5 separate regions of the Homo sapiens genome follow, and all the other regions are linked to region 2. The links are contacts of gene promoters, found by promoter capture Hi-C in blood cells and fetal thymus (Javierre and others, 2016). All regions are on one chromosome and are shown on one strand. Each heading gives the region's core, a stretch centred on a gene start or on the middle of the fragment in contact. The rest is flanking DNA. Distances are from core to core; before and after follow the strand shown.

Region 1 (2,700 bases), core at 59-2,558, 320 kb before region 2:
TGTTTAGATATGTTTAAGTTAATACAAATACTTACCATTGTGTTCCACTGTGTTCCAACTGCCTGCAGTATTCAGTACAGTAACATGCTATACAGGTTTGTAGTCTAGGAGCAATCAGCTATACCATGTAGCTTAGGTGTGTGGTAGGCTGGACCACCTAGGTTTGTGTAAGTACATACTATGATGTTCACCCAACGATCAAATCACCTAATGACCTGTTTCTCAGAAGGTATCCCCCCGATGCATGACTGTACTTACAAAGAGATTTAGAATTAGCATTTAGGGGAAAAATTATTTTGCTTGCATTATGGCTGCTTCTTTTGAGTGGTATTTGCTTTGTTCCTCAGGAAAAAAAAATTAGGGATAATGTTATTAAGAATATACAAGAAGCTAAAAAGTTTTGGTGCTCATAAAGAAATTAAAATGAAGTCTACATTCCTGAGAAAAAGCTCGATATCGTCCATCCAGCCTGGATTTGCTCAAGGAAGTTAAGGTTCTATGATGCTCGTGTGTGTACTCTGTGTAGATGTGTGGTAGGAGAGCAGTCTTTGTGTGTCTGTTTTACAAGAGCAATTATGATTAAAATTCCTACAAGAAAAATTATTTATTTATCATGAGTACAGTCCATGGCCCCTTTTCCCACTGAAATGTTTGTTTTGACAATGGAGATTTTTATACCATGAGATTTCCTAAGAACACAAGTATCCAATTATAGCAGAATGTTGTACATTAAAACATTCAGATAAACACTTAATCTTCTGGGATTACATGTAGCTTTTGTTTTCTTTTTTATACTTTTCTACATTTTCCAATTTTATAAATGCTATGCTTTAAAAACATTCTAAAATAGAGACCTAGACATGTTAACAAGACATTAAACTGCATGGCAGGAAGGGCCACTGGAGATTATTTAGTCCAATCCCCTCAATTTACAGATGAGGAAACAGGATGAAAGGCTAAAAGATCTGGTCAATGACAAAGCCAGACACTTTCGTCCCTTGGCGCAATGCACTTTCCCTATACCACCATCACGTTTCACACCTCCACACATGGGCTCTACGTACATAACACTAGCTTAACAGAGCCTTTCAGAGTTTGGCCTTTCTCTCCCTTTGCACAGTGTAGATGTTCTGGTCACCAGGTCTGTAACTGTAGTGTCTTCTACATGACACCTGCAGCAATTTATCAACACATGAGAACACAGAACATCTAGTTTTCTCTGCCCTGGGTGTACATGACTTAGAATAATTTGGACAGCTTAAAACCAAACCAAAAATGCATAATGCATGGGCCTCATCCTAGATCAATTAAATCATAATCTCTGCAGTGGAGTCCAGGCATCAGAATTTTTAAAAATCTCTCCGTTGATTCTAAGTGCAGCCAGGGCTGAAAACCACTGGGCCAGACATGAATGGAGAATTAAGGATAAGAAACTGATACTAAAATCCAATACCCTGTAATATGGTTTGGCTTTATGTCCCCACCCAATTCTCATCTTGTGGCTCCTCTAATTCCCACGTGTTGTGGGAGGGACCCGGTGGGAGATGATTGAGTCACGAGTGAATGGGTCTCACAAGATCTGATGGTTTTATTTTTTTATTTTTTGAGATGGAGTCTCACTCTTTTGCCTGGGCTGGAGTACAGTGGCGCAATCTCAGTTCACTGCAACCTCCACCTCCCCGGTTCAAGTGATTCTCCTGCCTCAGTCTCCTGAGTGGCTGGGATTACTGGCACGTGCCATCAAGCCCGAGTAATTTTTTTGTATTTTTAGTAGAGATGGGGTTTCACCATGTTGGCCAGGCTGGTCTCAAACTCCTGACCTAAAGTGATCCGCCCACCTCGGCATAAGCCACCGCACCTGGCCAGAGATCTGATGGTTTTTAAAACCATTTTTAAAATGGGATTTTCTCTGCACAAGCTCTCTCTTTGCCTGCCGCCATCCACATAAAATGTGACTTGCTCCTCCTTGCCTTCCACCGGGGTTGTGAGGCCTCCCCAGCCATGTGGAACTTTAAGTCCAATTAAATCTCTTTCTTTTGTAAATTGCCCAGTCTCAGGTATGTCTTTATCAGCAGCATGAAATTGCACTAATACATACTGAGTCACTTTCTAGCAACTAAAAGGGAAATAAAAATAAAGCATTTGGAGAGAGACAACTTTTTGCAAAGAACAAATCTTTGCAAAGTAAAGATTCCATGCTTTTTGCCTCTGTTCACTGTCCTTTGTCATAATTATTGCCTCCAAACTGGTTCCTTGTGAGCTATCACATTTCCACTAAAGTTACCTTTCTAAACTAGAGATCTAATCATAATCATAATAATTTTGATTGCCTCCCTAATGTCTATGGAGCAAAGTCAAATCTACTATAACACAGGCCTCTCCCCAATATGGCCCCACCAACCTCTTCAGCATCCTGCTTCTCCCTCTCAGGCACCATCCACTGCAGCCACACAAACACTCCTTAACATGGACACAGCATCGTTCACTCATTCAGATGATACTCACATGGCTAATCTTTCATAAGCACTTCACATTGTTATCTCATTTAATCCTCACAACTGCCCTTTGATGGAGAGAGGTACTACTCATTTTCCCCAACTTAAAGAGGAGGATACAGGCTGGGCGCGGTGGCTCATGCCTGTAATCCCAGCACTTTGGGAGGCCGAGGCAGGTGGATCATGAGGTCAGGAGATCGAGACT
Region 2 (2,700 bases), core at 186-2,685:
ACAAATCTTTTGATCTGTGTATTACTTCGCTTTGACACCTTACAACTTCAGGGGAGGTCAAGTCTGCTTTACTTATTTTTCCCCTCAACTCAGTCTCAATATCTCAACATGACCTGGAAAAATGCTTTATTTTCTGCTTCGCAGCAAACAGTAACAGACCTATCCATCATAACTACTCATCTGGGGAGTAGTTATGTTAAAGCCAAATTAAGATCACCATCCTATCAAACTGCAACAGTCACACTCCCGCTAAAGGGAAACAGAGTACTTTCTAAGCGTTCCTTAATATCTGTACAAGACTTAAACGTATTAAAGTCAACTGCAAAATTATCGCAACACTCTCTTCCAGGAACACCGATCTTGCATCTTTTTAACCAGCTCATCTTTAAAAACACATTTCAACAGAATATCTGTCAGTCCAGACCACTGTAAGGTTGATAATAAGCATTGTCTTGAATTTAGAACTTTTCAAAATATTTTAGAACTGCCTGAACTTGGTTGATGATTCAGCATGGTTAATTAGTATAGAGTCATCGCAAGTCACCACCAGGCTAAACAATCCCCTTGTGTGATAGCACTCGTGTTCAGGAAAGGGTCGAAGGGGCCACCTAATCCAACCTGGAGCCTGGGGTAGAGTCTCACCACCGGCAGAGTTAAGAGAATGATGCTTTCGAGGGACCAGCTTGGATTCCCTGCCAGATCTATGGACCAATGTCCTGGTTGGGGACTGAACGTGGTAGTCCAGAATGTGGTTGGGAGAGGCTGGGTGTGTTTCCATCTGACACCACCGCCTAATTTTCTTTGCTTCTTAAGGACCCCATGGGTGGTTTTCTTTGGACGACTGCAGGACTTTAAAAGGAAGCAATAACCTCAGGGGTTTGAGAAGGGACCCTCCGGAGCCCTTGGGCGGCTCCCACTGGAGTCCGAAGGGCCCCTCATCGCTTCCCCTGGGGACAGCACACACTTCTGGCAGAATGGGGCAGAGAAAAGTACCCGGAGCTCTGAGCAGAACCCAGAGCTCCGGGAGTAAGACCTCCAGGCGCGGAGAGGTGGGGAGCCCCCGAGCCGTCCTTGAGCCTCCAGGCTCGTGGAGGTCGGGCCAGCGGCCGGACACTGCCGCCCACACCTGCGAACGGCGCCCGCCCCGCGGATTGCCCAGCGGATGGCCCGGAGACCTCGCCCCGCCCGGCCGCCCCTCCGCCAGTCCACACCGCCACCCCGGCCCCGCCGCGCGGGCCCCTCGTACCTGGCCGGCGGCGGCTGCGGCTGCGGCTGCAGCGCTGCTCCTCACGTACCCGTTCCGTACTTCCCCGTTCGCCACGCAGCCATTCGCCCGCACCGTGCGGCGGCAGCAGCAGCCTCCGGGCTCCGGCCGCATCTTCCTGGCAGCACCAGGCGCAAGGCAGGCTCTGTAGGCGGTGGCAGCGGCGGCGGCTGCTCCAAGTCCCGCTCCGCACCCCACCCACCTCCCCGAAACCGGAAATGGCTGCAGCGCCGCCGCCAATTCCCGGGCGGGCCTTCACAGAGGGCGGGGCCCTCTCCGCAGAGGACCGGTCTCGGCCAAGGCCACGCAGCGAAGGGAAAAAGCGGCGGGGACCTGCCGAGAGGGATGTGGTCCTGAGGACCGCTGACCAATCTGGAAGAGAAGGAGGCGGACCCCATGCTGCTGCCTGGCCAATCACGGACGAGAGCAAAGCGCCTCGCCGGTGGAGAGGGGGCTTCTCTAGAGGGACTCCAGGGCCTGGCACCTGATTGGAGGCCGCATCCAGGTCCGGGGTAGGGCTTGCCTGTTTAATGGTCCAGACCGAGGAGGAGGCGGAGCCCAGGGAAAAGTAGCCAATTAGAGTGTGAGGAAATAAAAGGGGCTGAGCCGAAGTCTCTAGAGCGGGTTCCCAGGTTCTCCAGGACAGGTGGCGCCCTCTTTGCCCTTGCCTCGTGGGAAGTTTTGGAGTTTATGTCCTAGCCCAAGACAGGCAGCTCGCTTATTTAATTAGCTGATTCCTCTGTGAGTGTTTATAGAATAGATTTTTTGACAATCTCTCATCATTCTTCAATATGCGCCACACATTCACTATTTCTGAATTATTATAAGTAATAATTCAGATGCCTTTTCACGTGCCCTTCACATTTGCCCTTGGCAGGGTTTTCTATACAGTCTCCTTTAAATTAAGTCTTTCCTTCAAAGTTAGAAAACCTGGTCTAATTCCAACTCTGCCAATAACTGGAAGCTAAAACTTGAGCACTGTGTTTAACCACTTTAGAAGCCAAATTCTTTAAAATGGAGTTAATACTTCCTGCTTCATAGACTTACAGCAAGAATTATATCATTAACCCATTATGCACCTCTTATAATACTAGGCTTATAGTAGGAGTATAATAAATATTATTTTCTCACCCTTTTAGTTCCATCTTCCCATGGGGTTAGAAAGCAAGGAAATTGATCTACATTACAATTAGAGACTTTCTGTTATCCATAAAGAATTTAGTATCATAATTGAGAGTATGGACTCTGGAGTCGGTCTGGGTTTTAAATCCTAGCTGCGCCACTTACTAGCTGAGTGACCTCTATGTGTCTTCATCTGTTCAGTGGGGACAATAATAGTTGTCGTGAAGATTGAATAAGTTTATGTATGTAATGTATTTTGTACAGGACCTAGCAATTAGTAAGCATTCATTAAGTGTTGGTTACTAGTAATTGCT
Region 3 (2,711 bases), core at 98-2,597, 510 kb before region 2:
ACTAATAGCAACGCATATTATAAGCTCTTTATTATATATGATTTTATTTGCCCATAAAAGTGTTTTTTAAGCCTAAAAGTAGCATGCATGTATAGGGAGTTGTTTTTGCTCTCTGTTCAATACCTCAGCCAAAGGATTTAGAGGTTAATTTGAGAAACACAACACTGTGGGAGGTGGCAATAGGTCATGAGCCTGCAAATGTACACGAGGAAAGCAAGCCTTGCGGTGTCTCTTTTCTCCTCTCCCCTTTCCCCTCTCCCCCTCCTTCTGCCCTCTCTCTTCTCCTGTCTTCCTTTTCCCTTCTCTTCACTCCCCTGTCCCCTCTCCCCTCTGGTGAGTTCATTTCGTTACCCATTGGAAAAAGCCTAATCAAATGTGCCTTTGTTAGCAGTTTACAAAGCGAATGCTGAATGTGGTTTGTGTGCCTTGAATTTGTAATGGAATTAGAGGGCAGCCAGAGGACTGTGAATCTCCTTATGGGTGGAAACCATTCTGTTTAGTAAACTTGAAGCTTTTGTCAGTTGAAACCTCTGAGAAAATAAAGCTGAAGTGGGTGAGGCCAGTGTTCTTTGCCCATACTTTATTCACTGTTTGGATCACCTGTTTCAGCTCTCCAGGCAGTGACTTCTTATATAATTGTTTTTCATAGGGCAGTCCAGATGAAAAGAGTACCAATGAATCTGCCTCCAGCTGAATAAACCATGGAGAGGAAAAACCCATCCAGAGAGAGCCCCAGAAGACTCTCTGCCAAAGTAGGCAAAGGCACAGAGATGAAGAAAGTGGCTCGTCAGCTTGGGATGGCTGCTGCTGAGTCAGACAAGGACTCTGGCTTTTCAGGTTAAAAATATCTTATCCTTCCTCTGTTTTGTGAGTGAATGCTTTGCGTGAAAAATTTCCTCCCCAAAACTCATTTATGTGATAAGGATGGGATGCTTTCACACACAGGATAAATACTTACCTGCTTTAAAATGGTAATTCTGATGCCATATGTCAGGGTACCCATCAAAGTCACCACAGGGTTAGTTCTGAAAGAATTATTTAACATCTTTTTTCAACTTAGACTCTGAATCTTACACTTCCAACTATTGCAATTGGTCACTGGAAAAAATATTTAAATACTCATAATTCTGTTGTTTTACTTCCTTTTTCACAGGAATTATTACATTGTAGGGGAAAAATTGCTACTGCATGTAGTTTCCATGTAACAAATTGGAAGACTGCCAGTTAAATAAAAGTAATACTGTATATAATTTGTAAGGTAACTTTTTCATTGAGAAAGTAGTTTCGCTGTGTTTAGAAATGTACGCCTCCAACAACCCCTCCCCCCAGTCTCTATGCATTTTGTATTTGGACTGTGAGCCACCTGGCCTAGCTCTAAACTTGAGTATCTATTAGAGATAAGAAAATAGAACAGTTTTCCTTACAAGTTTTTCTTAAACCTTACCCAAAAGGGCTAGCTGCATATATATTGAATCATTCAATTTTGTGCTGGGGCTCTTTTTTTATTTCCCGCTCTGAGGGTAGTGGCTTGAATATGGCGCTAGTGTGATTTTTGGCGCGGGGATGCAGAGGGGTGATGCTGAGGGATTCTGGTCAAGTCAACATCCTGAGAGTAGAACCCTCTCAAGGAGAAGATTTATATTATCCAGACTCACAAAGACAAATCAATCAATTTTGATTTATTAACTTATAGTGAGAAATGCAGCTGTTAGGAAAACTAGAACTCTCTTGTCTTTAGATTGGCATATTTTCTCCCTGTAGGCATGCTGCTTGAAAAGGCAAATTATAAATAGACCGTTGCTCAAAGAGGAACAGAGCGCCAACCAAGGGATTAGATTAAAAGGAATTAGTTGCCCTGCCCAGGGCCAGGACAGTCCAGGGAAGGGCGGGCCAACCTTCCCTTTGGATTTTTCTTCTCTCTCTCAGCATTGTTTCCTAAGCCTGCCTCATCATAAGGCTCACCTGAGGCATTTGTTAAAAATATTGATCACCAGATCTCCCTCCTGGAGACTCTTTCAAGGGTCTGGACAGGGCCTGGAATGTGGGTTCTTTTAAAAAACAAGTGTTTCTGTTGTATGATCAGACAGGTTTGGGAAACACTGGAGGCCTAGTGCCTCTTTTTTTCTTTTAATATCACGTTTGCTTTTTGTTTATGTTTCATTTCATGAATACGTGCTCATTGTAAAAGCTTGGACAGGTAGGAAAGCATGAAGAAGAAAAACATTATCCATAATCTTACCATCTATTATTTCCAGTACTGTTGACATTTTGACACTTCTAACAACTTCAACTTTGTCAGGCCAGTTGTTTTAAGAATATTGTACTACTCAGATATAAGGTGGTATTAAAATAATCAAACTCATTATGCCCCAGAAAGTAGCCCCAGTGAATGCCACTGGAATGCTTCGAGCCACTCTTGGGCCAGGTGCCAGTGATTTCCTCACTGCCTGAGTTATTCCAGTTACCTTGGAGTAGGATGAAATTTGCAAAATCAAGACAATTTTTCCCATTTTAATTACCACATTTGTAGTTCAAAAAATTTCAAATCTATACAAAAGCAAATGAATACCCCATATGTCTATCTTTTTGCCATATATGCTTTCTCTCTCTCGCTCTCTTTACACACACACACACACACACACACACACACACTCTCTCTCTGAATTATTTGAAAGTAAATTGCAAACACTTGACATTTTACCCCATGTAGC
Region 4 (2,785 bases), core at 160-2,659, 280 kb before region 2:
ATGATCTCCAGCTACATGGAATCTGCCTGGGCTTTTTGTTACTTGTAGGGTAGTTTGGTGATTACATTCAACTGAATTGTTTCAGATCCCTTCTCTTTCATGCTTCAACCTCTAAAATATGTTGCAACAGAAAGCAGAGAATGATCTAACAGGTTCATTTTAGCATCACAGATATCACTGAAGGAAATATTTAAATGCCACCCTTCCCTGCTCAGATGTGAGTCCTTATTCTGCAACAGACACTAGGGATGTGGAGAGGCAGTGTTTTAAAAGACAGCAAAGATATATTATGGTGTCACTTTTTGTAAATGAAAATAGGCTGAATTCATATCACCCAGATTACGTTAATGATTGGCCTGGTATCCGAAGTCGAGGTTCCAAATTTGAACAGAATATCTTCATGGGGAAACAGGCCTCACTGGGACCAAATGCTGACATAAAACTCAGAACTTATTAATCATCACTATAAACCCAGTTTTTCCATTCCCAGTTCCCAGGTCATGATACTCTGCCATGAATTTAAATGCAGATGAAAGATCTATTATTAATCTTATTCTCAATTTTTTTTCTTTTTAGTTCTTCTTAACTTTCACAATCTTAATAGATTATGAAATAATTCATATGGGCTTATAGAATACCTTTCTTAAGGAAGATACATGAAAGACAAAGAATTTAAAATGTAAATCAGGTTCATTAAAATATAACTCAGATGTTACCAGGTGCATAGTGAAAAAGTTTATTTATGACAGATTCGAAAACTCAGAAGAGATGACAAAGAATGCACAAAAGCATCACAAAACTGTTACCTAATATAAAACGCAAGAACTGAGCTACTTGAAGAAGCACAGCTCAGAATCATCAGTGTAATCGCAGTAACACACCCAGTGCCACAGGGTGATAAAAATGGTATTTTAAAAGAAAAACCACTCAGCAGGACACAAGAATTAAAGTAACAATTTGGTAAGACTCTTAGAAATCACAGATGTTGATAGCATTTCTCATGATAGGGGACATGTAAAACAAGCTGACCATAATAAATGATTAGTTGGGATACTTTTGTATTTTAAAGAAAAAAGATAAAACAGTGACACGGTTTCCCTTCCAGACCCTTTTTGTAATGTCAGCAACAGTACATGATATAGAACAGTAAGAAAATAATGTCTTTGTAGTTGCCAATTGCTTAAATCTTTACGAAGAAAACATGATCATCTTTCAGTCAACTGACTGATCTGAGTACATGGCACCAAAGAAAGCCCTTCAGAAAATAGAAGCTAAATGACATAAAGTAGTTTGGAAAATCTTCAAGCACCTCCCTTTATTCCAATTATCCTTTTCCAAAGTCTGGCTTTCTTATAATCCATCACTTTGATTACAAAACAGCTCTCTTCTGGGAATTTCAAAACACTTCCCGTTACGTTAAGGGAAAATGGGTACACCAGATTCATGGGTTACAGGATTGCTTTCTCTAGACTTGGCTTCTCTTTAACATGGCTAAATGGAAATAATTTAGCTTGGTTAAATGAAAGCTACTTCACTTACAGGATAATCTCAGGAGACATGAGTGGAGTTTTTCATATGGAATTTCTTAGTAAAATGTACTGTTTAGGATATGAGAGACGGAATTAAGATAATGTTTTCCAGATGATTCTTGGCCTGATCCTAAGAATCAACAATAACAATCAATAGCAAGGAACATTACACATTCAACCCTGAGTGATGAAGAGAGTTCAGGAAGAGAGCCCCTTAAACTCTGAATTAAGGGCTCTTTGGTAATATCATATACTATAATATTTCAAACCAAAACTTCAGAAGGGTTCATGATCCTATTTCAGGACTTTAGAAAATATACTTTGTCCTCTGGAAGCAATTTCACATATATTATTTTGCCCCCAGATAAGCCACAACTACCTGCTTAAATTTTTTTTTAAACTATGGAATTAAATAAACATGCATCTCTAGATTTCTAGGGCAACTTTTCATCATATCTTTGAAGAGTCATGACATTAACTCTGGTCCACATACCTGGGGCCTAAAAAAATCAGGTACATATAATAGGAATCACATCATGAGCCTAATTTCAAAGCCAGTGTCTTGCCTTTGGACTGTGTGTGTGAGGCATGCCTATTTGTAAATGAGCTCCACTATCATTGGTTTTAGGCAATAGTGTTTTCTTAGCTTAGAAATTTCTTACCTTAAGAATTCAAACAGGAGGGGCTTTGTTTAGCCTTCTTGGTTTAGGCAGGGACAATGCAACACTTGAGAGGCAGCAGTGATTTCTGAGCAAAATTCTAAGATATATTCGATAGGTTTGCTCTCCCCTCCCCCCATACTCCTACCCTTTGCCCCCTAATTTTATTTTGTTTTCCCTCGTTGTGATCAATTTTAAAAGACAGTTCTCAAGCAGCACAAAACGGTGTAACTTATGCCCCTCCCTTATGCTCCACTAAAACAAGTCTCTTATGTAAATATTAGGGTCACTCAATTCCACACCTTAGAACCACTGGGGTTAAAAGGCAACCTTCTGCAGATAAGTGGTCTTAACAAACAAATATAAAAGCAGACTTTAGAGTCTGGGTTTCAACTAATTCTCTCAAAGAGGGACTGAGCAGGACTCATAAACATAAACTCATATTCCCTACAGATTAAGACTTTTTATGATAATACCTAATTCTACTGCTTAATATAAGACAGCGTTCAGATTTCACTCTTCCATATACATATTATAATGGGACAATATACACTTTTTTAAAAGTCTGAGTTTTTCTTCCCAAAATAACAAAAATAT
Region 5 (2,700 bases), core at 86-2,585, 490 kb before region 2:
CTCTGTGCCTTTATTTATTTATTTTTTTACCTGGAACGTCAGGGTTATAATAAAACATACCTTGTAGGATTGCTATGAGGAATACATGAGTTAATACAGATAAAGTGTGTACAGGACAAGCACCTGGCATGTAGGGAAGGCTCAGCAAATCTTGGTCATTGTTACCAGCAGTAGAATGACTGTATCAACAATGTTAGTGTCCTACACCATGCTAGGGACAGGGGGAAACTAAAGGATTCCACCATCTCCATTTCTGCTTTCCAAGGGCATGCAGTAGTTAGGAGACAAAACCTACAGGAGAGAGTAAGAGTGACAGAGAGCTGCCAACAGTAGTGGGAGTTTGAAATAGAAGGTTTCCAGGGGGCTGGACCAATTGAAGAAAGGTCCTATGGAGAAGTGCGATGTGGAGGAGGGGCTGGGAGGGGCCTAGGCTAAAGGAGGAGGCATGCTGGGGCCACCAGGTTACAGGATGTGGGGAGGTGCCCACCAGGGTGCAGAGGTCCACGCAGAGAGCTGCCTTGCCAGTCCAGATGGGGCACTGTACATAACAAAAGGTCACTGCTTACATCTCAGGGTTCCAGCCTTTCCAGTTCTATTGTAAGTCCTGGAAGCCATCTTGCTAGGAATGGTGTCCTTCCAATGCCATTTGCTGAGGCTGTGCAGGAAGGCAAGAGTGATGGGGAGCTCCCAGAGACCCCTCTTTGGGCCCAGAGAAGACTAGGAATCTCTGATGTTCCCAGGTGAGCTCTAGCATCTTTGGGCTGATTCTCTGGAAAATGAACTTAACCTTCTACCTTTGATCGCCAACCTGGAGACTTGCGGATCCTTTAGAAAAACTAGACATCAGTTCATGCTTGACTCATCCAAACGGACACCATGAGCTGGTGTGAGTTAGGGTTTTCTAAGAAGTGATCAGAGGAAGGAGGCAGGGTCCATGGGGAGCGTGGCCTGAGGACAAACCTGCAGTTGTGGCTGCAGGTATGTGCTCACATCCCACCATTCCTAAATGCAGACTTGCAATTCCCAGAAACCACCTGGTATCTCTGCCTCTGTATAGTCCCTCCTACCTCCACTCCCACCCACAGCCCTGCTTTTCTGCCTGGCCCCCTCCTATTCATCCTGCATGACCCAGATGTTGCCTTTTCTGGGAAGCCTTCAGGTCCGCCCTGGTAAAGTAAGTGCTCTCCGCCAGGCTTCTGTAGCACCCTGTCCTCCCATCGGCACTTTCATGCCACTGAATCACAACCATCTGCAATTTGTTCTCTTCCTAGTGAGCTCCCTGAGATCAGGTACTGGGTCTCTTTCATCTTTGCATTCCTGGTTCTTGGCATCATGCCTGGCATAGAGTCAGCATCGATGAATGTTTTTGAAGAATGAGTGGAGGAGCTGGGCCAGTACCATGAATAGAGAGGGGAATGAGAGCAGAAGCAGAGGCCAACACCAGGAGCAACTGAGCTACTCCCAGACACCTCCCGCCCCCACCAGCAGGCTCACTGTGGCTGGTGAGCAGGCCCAAGGTTCTGCCTCATCTTTAACGTGTCTCAGATAAGTTAGGAGAAATGCCTCCTCTCTCCCTGCCCATCCTTCCTTTTCTTCCTGGCAGGAGGGGCTGCTTCCCAAGCATCCCCGAGGGCATGCTGAGAGGCAGGGCAGGAGGGAGATGAGGGGGAATCTCATGAGCAATGAGGCCAGTTGGAGGACACTGGGTACAGACAAAAGCCACAGTATTTGGAGGACCAAATGCATGGACAGTAACAAGGACAGTCATCTTCCTAAGGAGAAAGACTGGCTAACAGATGGTCCCTGGGACCTAAGGACTGACTTGTTACAGTGGAGGGGGACCTGGGTTGAAGTCTCCTCAAGTTTGTTGTCTTTCCAAAACTCCTTGGGTTCCTGGAGCTTAGAGTGAGGCAGTTCCTGCCTTGCCTAATCTGACACTAGGGCATGGGTCAAAGCAGAGTGTACCCACTTTCTGGATGGAAAGCATCTCACTCCAGCACATGGGCCTGAGGACCCATGATCTCTATTGGCACTGACAGATGATTCTACCCCTGCTGTGGGAGTCAGAGAGCTGTGCTGTAAAGAATGACTGGCAGATGTCCCTGAACCCCTTCCTCCATGGACGCAGAGTGGTTAGTTAAGAATGACACCATCAACTGCCATCTGACGGGCCAACGACAGAGGCTAGTGCATGAGATGGCCCTGAACCCTAGTGTCACAATCTTTTCCACCCCAATCCTCCTAACAATCACCCCGTTTTCACCTTCAGGGCCATCTTGGGCCCCCTCCCTAGCATTCCTCTACTCATGCTCCATGTCTGTGAAGTGCCTCTGATATCTTTCCCCTCTTTACCATCCCACAACCACTATCCCCACCCGGATCCCGGTTACATCTCACTGAGATATAGTACATGCCTCTTACCAGGTCCCTCAACCTCCAGTTTCTCCCACTTCCAGTCTATCCTCCAAGGCTGCGCTTTCTGAAATCTACCTCTGATCATGCTGCTCTCTTGCTCAGAACTTTCAGTGGTTCCCTATTGCCTGTCAAATGCCCTCCAGGTCCCTTAGCTTGGCATTCAGAGCCCTCTCTGCTTGGGTCCCTACTCTCAGCCTTAACCTCCTCTGCCTCTTTGTGATATCCCTTATACCCCAAGGCCCAGGCCTGTTCTCTGTCCCTGGAAAGCCCTCCCTGTCCCTCTTT

The links. Contacts are between HindIII fragments. The CHiCAGO score rates a contact against its expected background, and 5 or more counts as called.
Region 1: a fragment that was not itself captured here is called in contact with the fragment with the promoter of SPTLC2 in region 2 in 1 of 17 cell types (naive B cells); the score reaches 5.2 in naive B cells.
Region 3: a fragment that was not itself captured here is called in contact with the fragment with the promoter of SPTLC2 in region 2 in 4 of 17 cell types (total CD8 T cells, total B cells, non-activated CD4 T cells and 1 more); the score reaches 7.1 in total CD8 T cells.
Region 4: a fragment that was not itself captured here is called in contact with the fragment with the promoter of SPTLC2 in region 2 in 1 of 17 cell types (naive B cells); the score reaches 5.3 in naive B cells.
Region 5: a contact is called between a fragment that was not itself captured here and the fragment with the promoter of SPTLC2 in region 2, in 4 of 17 cell types (total CD8 T cells, total B cells, naive B cells and 1 more). The highest score is 7.5, in total CD8 T cells.

The regions. Positions count from the first base shown.
Region 1 is chr14:77,292,735-77,295,434 of GRCh38, forward strand. All of the region lies in intron 9 of POMT2 (protein O-mannosyltransferase 2), which reads right to left. Among named protein-coding and RNA genes, the nearest start is that of NGB, 23 kb to the left of the region's middle. The HindIII fragment of the contact is 4,904 bases long and covers 1-2,700 here.
Region 2 is chr14:77,615,202-77,617,901 of GRCh38, forward strand. It overlaps SPTLC2 (serine palmitoyltransferase long chain base subunit 2), which reads right to left and starts at 1,436. Exons shown (of 12, transcript NM_004863.4): 1 at 1,247-1,436. The coding sequence starts at 1,378. RefSeq lists enhancers at 693-902, 1,231-1,763 and silencers at 1,083-1,282, 1,423-1,472, 1,803-1,862. The HindIII fragment of the contact is 6,254 bases long and covers 1-2,700 here.
Region 3 is chr14:77,105,008-77,107,718 of GRCh38, forward strand. CIPC (CLOCK interacting pacemaker) reads left to right here. Exons shown (of 4, transcript NM_033426.3): 2 at 650-837. The coding sequence starts at 702. Among named protein-coding and RNA genes, the nearest start is that of CIPC, 8.1 kb to the left of the region's middle. The HindIII fragment of the contact is 1,677 bases long and covers 510-2,186 here.
Region 4 is chr14:77,334,309-77,337,093 of GRCh38, forward strand. It overlaps TMED8 (transmembrane p24 trafficking protein family member 8), which reads right to left. Exons shown (of 6, transcript NM_213601.3): 6 at 721-2,785. Among named protein-coding and RNA genes, the nearest start is that of GSTZ1, 15 kb to the left of the region's middle. The HindIII fragment of the contact is 9,857 bases long and covers 1-2,785 here.
Region 5 is chr14:77,127,323-77,130,022 of GRCh38, forward strand. No RefSeq gene overlaps it. Among named protein-coding and RNA genes, the nearest start is that of ZDHHC22, 13 kb to the right of the region's middle. The HindIII fragment of the contact is 5,677 bases long and covers 1-2,700 here.